Linked DNA regions of Homo sapiens: region 2 is linked to region 1. Evidence: promoter capture Hi-C in 16 types of primary human blood cells and fetal thymus (Javierre and others, 2016). All regions are on one chromosome and are shown on one strand. Each heading gives the region's core, a stretch centred on a gene start or on the middle of the fragment in contact. The rest is flanking DNA. Distances are from core to core; before and after follow the strand shown.

Region 1 (4,884 bases), core at 305-2,804:
ATAAATCCTACTGATTCTAAATGTACTGTGGAATCCTGCATGGGATTCTGGAACAGAAAAGGGGCATTTGGGGAAAAAAAAAACCCAGCAACAATAAAGTATTGAGTTTAGTTAATAATAACGTTCACCATGGTTCATTAATTGTGACAAGTATACCATACCAACGTAAGATGTTAAAAACAGAGGATTCGGGGTGCAGGGCAAGGGGAACTCTGAACTACCTTTGCACCTTTTCTGTAGATGTAAAACTACTCTAAAAGGAAAAGTTTATTACAAAAAAATAAGCTAAGGAGCAGATTCTCCTGGCCTCTGGCTCACTCAAGCCTGTGGTTGGTTTGCTGGAGCCAACGAGATAGGAAGTCTGCTTTTGCGTGGTGGTGGTCCGGGTGGAGGATGTGGTTGGATCAGCAGCAGCCCACACACATCTTGCCTCTGGCAGGGCATTTGTTGCCTTATCAGTACTTCTACACAATTTAATTATACTAACAAAATTGGTAACCTCAAACCAGCTTAGTCTTTGTATAATACTTTTGTCAGATAATTTATCTCCACAAATTTATAGTTCCACTTCATTACTTTTGCTGAAGAACAAAGCTCTCCAATCTGAAAAATAACAAGCGTTTTGTGTTTTAAAAAAGATTTTGCTGTAATTCATTAATACTACATAAAATGGAAAAATATGTATTTTTATTTCACATGGAATGCATCGATCTGAATTAAAAATAAGGTTTTTTTTTTAAAAGAAGCAGAAGAGCAGCAGAGGCTGGTGTTAGAATGGGGCATAGAGGGGCTAACACAGGCTCCAAATAAGAGGTGACAATTGGCCAGGCCCTGAAAAATTGCAGGGTTTTCAAGACTGCAAAGTCCAGCCTCTGGGCAATCAAAGTTTTATGCCACTTCAGTGAATCTAGGGATGCACTACTGTGAGAGTCGGGCAGGTGGGTTGAAATTCCCCTTTCTTGGTCTGTGCAGAAAACTACGGATGAAGTCCTAGTGTTGCTTAAGGAGAATTTATGAAAAATTTATTCCTGTTTCCTGGATGCCTGTGCCTTTGACCTTTCCCTAGAGCTAGAAATGGTTGGAGACTTTGCAAACATCTTTAAGAACTGAGAAAAATAAAACAAACTTGCTAACTGCTTTCAGAAGATCTTCTATATTGCAGTTGGATATGCTCAAAGCGTAAGATGGGCAAACAGAGGTGGCTGTGGGGTTGCCACACCTGGCATTTTCCCTACTGGGGGAAATTTAATGAGCACTTAAATAATCCTGAGTCTGAAAGGGGCAGAAGGTCCAGGCAGATGATTGCCGAGGACAAATCTAGCTTTGTAAATCCGAGAGTATTGACACAATGATACGAGGGAAAGGTGAAGGTGATATTTCATCCAGTGTTCCCGGTTCATCCTCTCCTTACCTGACCTCTGAAATGGAGCCATTGGCCTTGAAAAGCCTGGTGTCTAAAATTAATATTCTTCCCCATCTGACTAAGAAGGCAACAGCTGAGCAACGTGAGATCAAGAGCCATATTAATTTAAACAGGGGCTGAAAGTGGCATTTGAGAGAGAAGATACTTCCTCTCGTAGTGGACACTTGTCTTTTCAGAAGATTTATACGACTGAGAGTCAAAACTTTTACCAGAGACTTTCATAGTCAGTTTGAATTCTGCAAAATTTCTCTTTATCTTCTGGAATGTATGCTCTAGACTTGGAGTGGCTCAAGCTCTTCGATGTGATCCTATCAATGGTAATTATCTTTGTTTATTGTTATAACCTCTCAAATCTCCTCCCCTTTTTTCTAAGTTACCTTCAATAACAAATTGTACCAAACTTCAGGTAGAGCTTAATGTTTAATATTTCTTTGCAAAATTATTGTATCTTAATCCTAAGCTTTTGTTTTAATACATTAATTTTGTGTGGCTTCCTGATCCAACTTGAGTTTCATCTGCAATTAACCATAGTATTTTAGTCGTAGTTTGCCTTAGAAATAGCCATGCATTTGTTTCCTTATTTTAATAATTTTTTCAGGGCAATTTGAAAGAATGCTAAGAATGATCTGTAATATATCTGTAGAGCTCTGGTTGATAGTATTAATATTTGCATTTTTATTTGTTTGAATGTAAGCTCTTTATGTGGATAAGTATAATTTGTTAGAGCAGTGAATTTTAAACACTTTGGAACTCAAGAGTATCATTTTACTATAGGAACTGACAAAACAAAATATTAAGTTTTCTGATGAGAATCACAATACGGTTTTTAAGCGGAGAAAATGCTCGAAGAGGCGCTTTTCGGAAAATCTCCACCAGGGGGCCTCAGTTGTCAGCCATGCGGAACTAGCACAAATTCAAATGTCTCTCCCTCTCCCTGCCTCTCTATGCAATCAAGTGATGTGTACATATAGACATGCGTATATGTCTCTAGTATCAAAGCGAATTATGTATGCTGCATTACTTCATTTGCGAGGAAAGTATTTTAAGGAGAGTGAAAAGACTCTGAACTTCTCGGTACATAGCTGTTAATGCAGATGCAAGGAAAGGTATCTGGGAGTGCTGTCCACGTGAGAAGACTGTAAGGAAATAAATTTCTTTTCACAAATAAACACCACACATTTTAAGGCATAGGTAGAGAAGAGTTCTGGAAAAGGACTCATTCGGGAGCGATCCCTCTGCAGAGGGAGGCCAGGGGAAGCAGAGAGACCCCTTCTGTGATAAGCCCTTCCCACGGGGCTGCAAAACCTGCGGTTCCAATTAAACCCAAAGATACTTTATAATTTACATCCAAGCTGGCCACTTGATCTACGGCTTGTTTTGTGCAATAAGGAGCATATTTCATCACCAGTGAATCTTGACATTGCTTCTTACTGTTTGCTTTTGTAGTTTTAAAGTGAAAAAATTTTTTTTCCTTTTAAAGTTCCAATGTTGGAAACTCAATATGAATGTTAGTATTTCTTTTCCTGATTTTGGATCCTCTCTCCAGTTTAAACAGAAGGGACTTCCAAATTCTCACTGGTCATTTTCTCAAGAAGTCAAATGCATGAATACGTGATGAGAACTTTTTGTGTTTCCTTTCTTTGCAGTCAAGAGAAAGAAGCACTGAAGAGTCATAATTGTGTCCTGATTTATAAATCGGAGACAGAGGGAGACGAAAACCACACTCCAGAAAGTAGCTTAATCGGACTCACTACTAAGATGTTAAAAGTGAAGAGGCTGGAAGAATTCAACACGTGTTATAACAGCAACCAGCTGGAGAAAATGGCCTTTTTTCAGTGCAGGGAAGAGGTGGAGAAAGTGAAGTGTTTTCTGGAAAAAAATTCTGGGGACCAGGATTCAAGATCTGGACATAATGAGGTAATCATGTTCTAATTTAGTCTCCTAAAAAGTATTCATTCTATCTTATCTTTTCTAATGTCATGGAGCCGCTTGTGAGTACAATTAAGGAAAGTTTATGAATAGGCATCATTCCACTTTGCTTCAGTGAGAATTGTGTGTGTCGACTATACAATTGTGTTTGGTAAATAATTAGGAGGCCTTTGAAACTGCATTTCTGCCAGCAGTCGACTTCACTTTTAGTTAGTGGCTTAGGAGTTATACAGCCAGCTTGCAGAAATGAAGAAGAATCCTTTAGCATGATGGATTTGGGCTTGAAATTCAGAAAAGGGCTCTGAGAGGCACACTGTTCTGCAGAAAGAAGTTTCTCCTTTTTCCTTCAGATCTTGAGTTCCTCACGCGGTAGACAGCAGAGCTGTTGATAGTGAAGTCCAGAGAAGGGACAAGAAAGACTTGCTGATGGCACGACGGTGGGGCTTGTACCCTCCTCTGTGCAGAACGAGAGTTCTGAGCCCCATTCCAGCTGCTCGTTCTTGGGAAAAATATTAATTTAACCAAGGGCTTGCCACATCTGAATTAGTGAGATAATAGCAATTGTGAAAATTAAGTGTGATCACGTCTGTAAAGCACTCCGCCTAGTATCTGTCACTAGAGTCAGCATTTAATATGTGTTAGCGGCAGCAGCAATTACCTCCCCTGCCTTGGCCCAGTCAGTTCCTGCCCATCATCCGTTGGCTCCTTGCCCGGTGGGAGCATCAAGCATTTTGCCCGTGCCTTCATTCCAGCACATGTGGTGGTTTTGAACATGTTGATCACCTTTCTCTAGACAAGGCTCCTTAAGGTTGGGAAACCTCGTGTTATTTGTTCATGTTTCCTCAGTTGCTTTCCTAGTAACGGAAACAAATAGGCACCAAAAGTGTTTTTGGAATGCACAGATCTATTTAAGTGAATTCTGGTTGAGGGCTGGGAACCATTATTTTTGATAATCAGAGCAAGTGATTCTTATCAGGCAGGTTTGGAAAACATCCTTCTTTGCCCAGCTACTGTTCTAAAAAACACTATTCAGGTAGGAAGGGCGTTTCTAACAATGCAATAGACAATGAAATAGAGAGATTGTATATAAAAGGTCTAGGAGGCTTTTTATTGTAAGTGAATAAGAAATGACAAAATGTGCTGGAGAGAATAAATGAATCAGATTGAAACATTTTTTTGAGACCTCTGCTTTCCCCATGAGTTCAATATAGACCAAGGAGAAATATCTACAGGCAAAATTAAGTGAGACATGACTTTCTCATTAGGGTTTTCAGTGGTACAAACAGGATAATTTTTTCTGTTTATTAATTTCGGTAGGACAGAGAAGACAAAATATTCTTCTTGGAGAACTTTGAAATCATCAACTAACTGTAATAGTTTATATGAATTTCATTATCTTTCAAGTACTGTTTTTCTCCAAAATCTATGATACAATTTTTATAAATGGGCAACACTCTAAAGAGTGAGATAAGCAGGACACATGGCTCATACCTGTAATCCCAGCACTTTGGGAGGCTGGGGCAAGAGAATCA
Region 2 (5,119 bases), core at 652-3,151, 650 kb after region 1:
TGAAATCTTTTCTAGTTCAAAAAATGTAATGCGTAAGAATTTTTTCTGCTACTTTGTACTGTAAATCATTAATTGGATACCTTACCAGTGCCAGCAAGAAATAAATCATATGAAAATGGTTTGAATGTATCAGATTTCTATTTTTTGAAAAATGTCTAAGATCGAAGATGAGTGATTAGTAGGTATCACTTTTACTCTTTGAAAAATGGCAGAGTATGTTCCTAGTTTGGAAATGTTAATTTAAAGTGTAATCCACAGCGAATTTAGATTTGCTTTATTTATAAGAAACCGCACATCAAGCCTTGGTTTGGCATGTTACAGCTCCGTTAACAGTTTATCGTTAAGAGACTGATTCTTTAGAAAATGTTGCACCCTGAAAGGTTAGCTCAACTTGTGTACGGTTCTAGTGTTGATAATTAAAGTGAAATGTTTGCCAGAGAAGAGGAGTATTGTGTTGATAGCAATTATGCAGTTATTCTAAATGGGAGCTGATAGAGAAGAGGCAGCAGTTTCGCACTTCTTATGCTGTTTGGTATATCAGGGTAAAAAAACCTGTTCCTGAGTTTCTTTTCTACTCCCATTCCATATATTTCATTGGTGCCAGGTTTTTATTTTTTTAGTATATAACAGTAAAGTCTTTTAGAAATTAGTGGTATTGACAAAATAAACCTTTTAGGACATTCTTCAAGACTGTCAACCCACATTATTAGTACTGATGGTAAATAACCAGTCTTTACCCTGAGTGCATGGATTAATTGTTACATGGTGTAGGGGACAGGGTTTTTTTGTTTGTTGTAACATTCCCATATGGCTCACACTAGAGTGCCTTTCTATTTGTTTGTTTGACACTAACTTATCTTAGGACAATTCAGAGCCAGTATGGTCAGTCCTAAAGGGGAGGCTGAGAGGCTCTTTAGTGTGGTCTGATACATTTCTCCATCTTCCCTAGAGAAGAAGTGTTTGAATATTTGACAGAAGTTAGTCGATTATTATGTCACAATATTTGAGTTATTGGTTGTTTACATAATGTGTGTAAATAATTTTTTCATCTGTTTGCTTTGCATTTGCTTTATATTAAATATTAGGAAAGTGTTTTGGTTTAGTGATCATTTCTTTTTTTTTTTTTTTTTTTTTTTGAGACGGAGTCTCGCTCTGTCACCCAGGCTGGAGTGCAGTGGCGTGATCTCCGCTCACTGCAAGCTCCGCCTCCCGGGTTCACGCCATTCTCCAGCCTCAGCCTCCCGAGTCGCTGGGACTACAGGTGCCTGCCACCACACCTGGCTAATTTTTTGTGTTTTTGGTAGAGACGGGGTTTCACCATGTTAGCCAGGATGGTCTCGATCTCCTGACTTTGTGATCTGCCCGCCTCAGCCTCCCAAAGTGCTGGGATTATAGGCGTGAGCCACCGCACCCGGTTAGGTTTAGTGATCATTTCACTCTATCATTTGGCAAGATATTTAGATTGCAATTTAGCAAAAATTAATTTATCTTATTGGAATTATTTACTTAAGTGACTTAAAATTTCAACTTTTGTTTTTCAAGCATAAGTTCATCAAATTTGCCAAATTAAAATTTATCAGCAGCAATAATGGAAAAAATCTATTGGTTATGTTCAATAATATTATGTTAAATAATGTAACTTCAGTCATTTTTCAGTTTTATAAATTTGCTTCACAGAGAAAGAAATGGAAATTTCCAATAAGCTTTACGTTTGTGTAGGGAAGCAAATTATCCCTAAAGCTTCCTTCTTCATCCCTCTAGATTAGAGACATGATTGTTTTTGAAACTGAGGAAGTTTCTGGTGTGTTTAAGAATGTTGTGCTCTTTTATACACATAGATGGCAGCAAAGAATTAGACAAAGGAAGTGAACCTTGCAGTTGTAGTGAAAGATGAGTGACAGTACAAACTGACTCCATCAGCATAGCTGCCTGTGTCTCATACTTAAACATAAAATAAGAAAGAAAGCTACTATTGATAACACAAGAATATAGGAGAACGAAGAAGGCTCTGAGAAGCTGTAATACACTGAATTTCTGGACAAATCCCAGGTGGGGAAGCTTAATCTTTTAAGGTATGTCATCCACTCCTGTAAGATGATTGAAATCAGCTAAGATAATATGCATGTCAAAATAAAGAGACAGTGAAGGGCTGAGGGGCAGTAGGGCCAGAGGGAAGTAAAAGAGAAACCACGCACAAGTTGCAGCGGCAAGCAATAGCCTGCTGCCTGCGGGCACTGTGGAGTTTGGCCTGCATGTCTCCTCTTTAGTTAAGCAAGTTACAAAGAGGAAATGTCAGTCCACGAATCAGGCAAACATTCCCTGGGAACGTTTGCTCAAATGTCAGCATTTTAGAAAATAGAACTGTAGTCTATTATGGTTCAGTCCCCATACTGGGTTTGCTGTTAAGTGCACAAGCACAAATATATTGCTTAAGAATGCATTTGCTATTAACAAGTCATTTTATGTCTTAATTAACATTCCTAAATAATGACATAATCACTATAAAAGATGACAGTCATCATTATAATTAATATTTAATATGTGTGTGCTTCCGAGGACCTTTCTGTGGCTTCTCACAAATTTCCAAGGTAATTTTCAAGTTTTAGAATTGCATTTGGTGAGATCACAGTCATGAGGATCTAATGAAGTAGAATCATATTTAGTAGAAACTGAGATTCGGAAGTGAGTTGTAGAAAAGCAATTTGTAACATGTCCTTAACAATCCCATCACCTCAGTATCTTACTAATTATAAACGAAATAAGGGCTTCTTAATGCCACTAGAGTAATGCTAACATTGTTTAGGAAAACATTTCTCCTACCCTCTATTTTTTTTCTGGTCTACTCTCAGGAATTTTAGTACCACAGACTAATCTCTGGGTCACAAAATTTATTCTAAAGGTGTGTATAACAACGTGCTTAAAAGCAGTATCTGGCAAGTCTCTCTTGTGACAGCAACGTTATTTCTGACATAATTATTTTCTTAGTAAATTTGATATCTTAACAACCCCTTCCCTCATTTCTGAGTTCAAAAAATAACACTTAATATAATTTATTTCTCATACTTAATAAAAGCTTACTTGAGAGCATATTGCCATTCATCCTCTAGCTGCTTCCCCCAAATGAGGTTAGAAGGGAATGCGGTTTGCGAGGGTATAAGGTGGTTTCCAGCATCGTACGCTGTGTACTGTAATGGGCCTCAATGTTGTTTTAATGAAGCATTAAACATATTCTGGCTGTTGCTTGTTACTTATTAATGATTAATTGGTTATACTCTGTCATATCAGTAGAAAAAGAAGATATGTATGTAGTTTTTCTGTTTTAAGCAGTCTACTGTGTTAACTTCAGTTTGTATGCACAGATATTATCTGTGTTACCCTAATATTTTTAGTAGTGTAGGCGGTTTGAAAACAAGGACAAAGAAAATTCTGATGTCTAAACACATAATCTTGCAATTTTGTGAATTTTTAATTTAATTAAATGGAATTTTATAAGTTGAACTTTCATTATCATATATTTCTTAAAACCAGGGTGTAAGATAATTGAATTAGTCACAATTACATAAACATTTCTTTATAGGTCATTTTTGAGATAGCAAATGGGTTTTAGATTAAAAGGTTGTTTAAAAACAGCTTTTAATCAGAATATAATATGTTTTGCAGGTGACTGCGTACTTTTTCTTTTACACTTTTAGCCCCTCTTTGGCAGGCATTAGATTTAGACTGTGACTTTCTTAATGCAATAACATCGTGCAGATTATTTATGTGACCTTTTCACTGCCACGGTTTTCATTAAACGGACAGTATTGCAACACCATTTCCTTCAATTGCTTGGTTTCAAAAGAATCGTGTCTCAAGCAGGCAAATCTAAGTGATTTGTGTTGCTTACTAACTGAAGAATATTGTTTTAAAACTTTTTTTAAAAACCAGCATATTAATTTTCTTCATATTAGCACTAGAACATTTATTTTCCTTGACAATATTTTATAAATATTTTGCATGAATAATTAAATGTTGGATAATTAATAACATTTTTTTCAATTTGCTTATAATTTTTAAATGGGCTTTTAAAAATGATACACTTTATAGTTTTTGATGCCCTTTTTAAAGTCTAAAAACAGATTTTGTATGAATTATAGGGGACTTCAATGTTTTATTGGCATTTTATAACCAATTTTAATTTATGATGGCTTTACATTTGTTTACGTGACTACATCTTACAAAATCTTAGATATTTGAAAAATTTCCAGTGTAGTATAATAATAGCTTAAGTAATACTTGCCTTGTTTGTCTTTCTTACTTACTTTAACTTTCACATGGTTAATTAAGTAGCATTCCTGTTGATTAATAAACTAGAGCGCACACTGTTGTTTGAGGTTAAAATACCAAAGTTTTGTGCTTATGATACTTAGATTTTCCTTTATGTCCAAATTGTCCTTTCTTTTATCTGATGTAAAATATTTAAACATATATAGATACTTTGAAAATTATTTAAATTGATAGATGATTGCATGTAATCACGAAGTATGTTTTCTCATGTGGCCATTGTTTTTCAATGAAGTGTTAATGGTTAGTGGAAAAATTTGTGTAATATAAATGCCCTAAAGTTCAATTTTGGCGCTAAATTTAATTGCCTTTTTTCCCCCACAGTTTGTGTCTTTATTTTAGATAAACACATAAGTTCATAAATGTATTGCTCATATTTCGTCTTTCTTGAGGAATGGTTTCAGATAGATTTGATATACTTTCTCTCATTTCGTGGGAGATTCTTTTCTCTTTCTCTCAGTTTCTAACTGGGGATTCCACTTATCAGGTTGAACCATCTTACATGATGATGATTCTTGGTGGTGCAACTTTGTTGGCACAGGATCCAGAGACTAATCCATAAAGCAGTTACTGGATTTCCAATGTGTGAAATATTAGTTTGTCCCTTTTTCTTGTGTTTTTTCTTCTGAAAAGCTTTACTGAAATTTCATTTTTTATTTTCTCTCTTTTTTTTGTTTTTTGTTTTTTTAGTGTTTTTTTACCATGCTACTTATGAAAGAATTTCCTAAGAACTTTCCCAAGTTCTATCACTTGGGAAAAGATGTGTTTTAACTACAACAGAAACATCCCGGTTAAA

Evidence for each region. The method cuts DNA at HindIII sites, captures the fragments that hold promoters and counts their contacts. A CHiCAGO score of 5 or more calls a contact.
Region 2: a contact is called between a fragment that was not itself captured here and the fragment with the promoter of MYLK4 in region 1, in 1 of 17 cell types (M1 macrophages). The highest score is 5.0, in M1 macrophages.

What each region holds. Positions count from the first base shown.
Region 1 is chr6:2,747,592-2,752,475 of GRCh38, reverse strand. It overlaps MYLK4 (myosin light chain kinase family member 4), which reads left to right and starts at 1,554. Exons shown (of 13, transcript NM_001012418.5): 1 at 1,554-1,740; 2 at 3,070-3,340. The coding sequence starts at 3,182. The HindIII fragment of the contact is 6,360 bases long and covers 1-1,885 here.
Region 2 is chr6:2,101,199-2,106,317 of GRCh38, reverse strand. All of the region lies in intron 4 of GMDS (GDP-mannose 4,6-dehydratase), which reads left to right. Among named protein-coding and RNA genes, the nearest start is that of GMDS, 140 kb to the left of the region's middle. The HindIII fragment of the contact is 318 bases long and covers 1,743-2,060 here.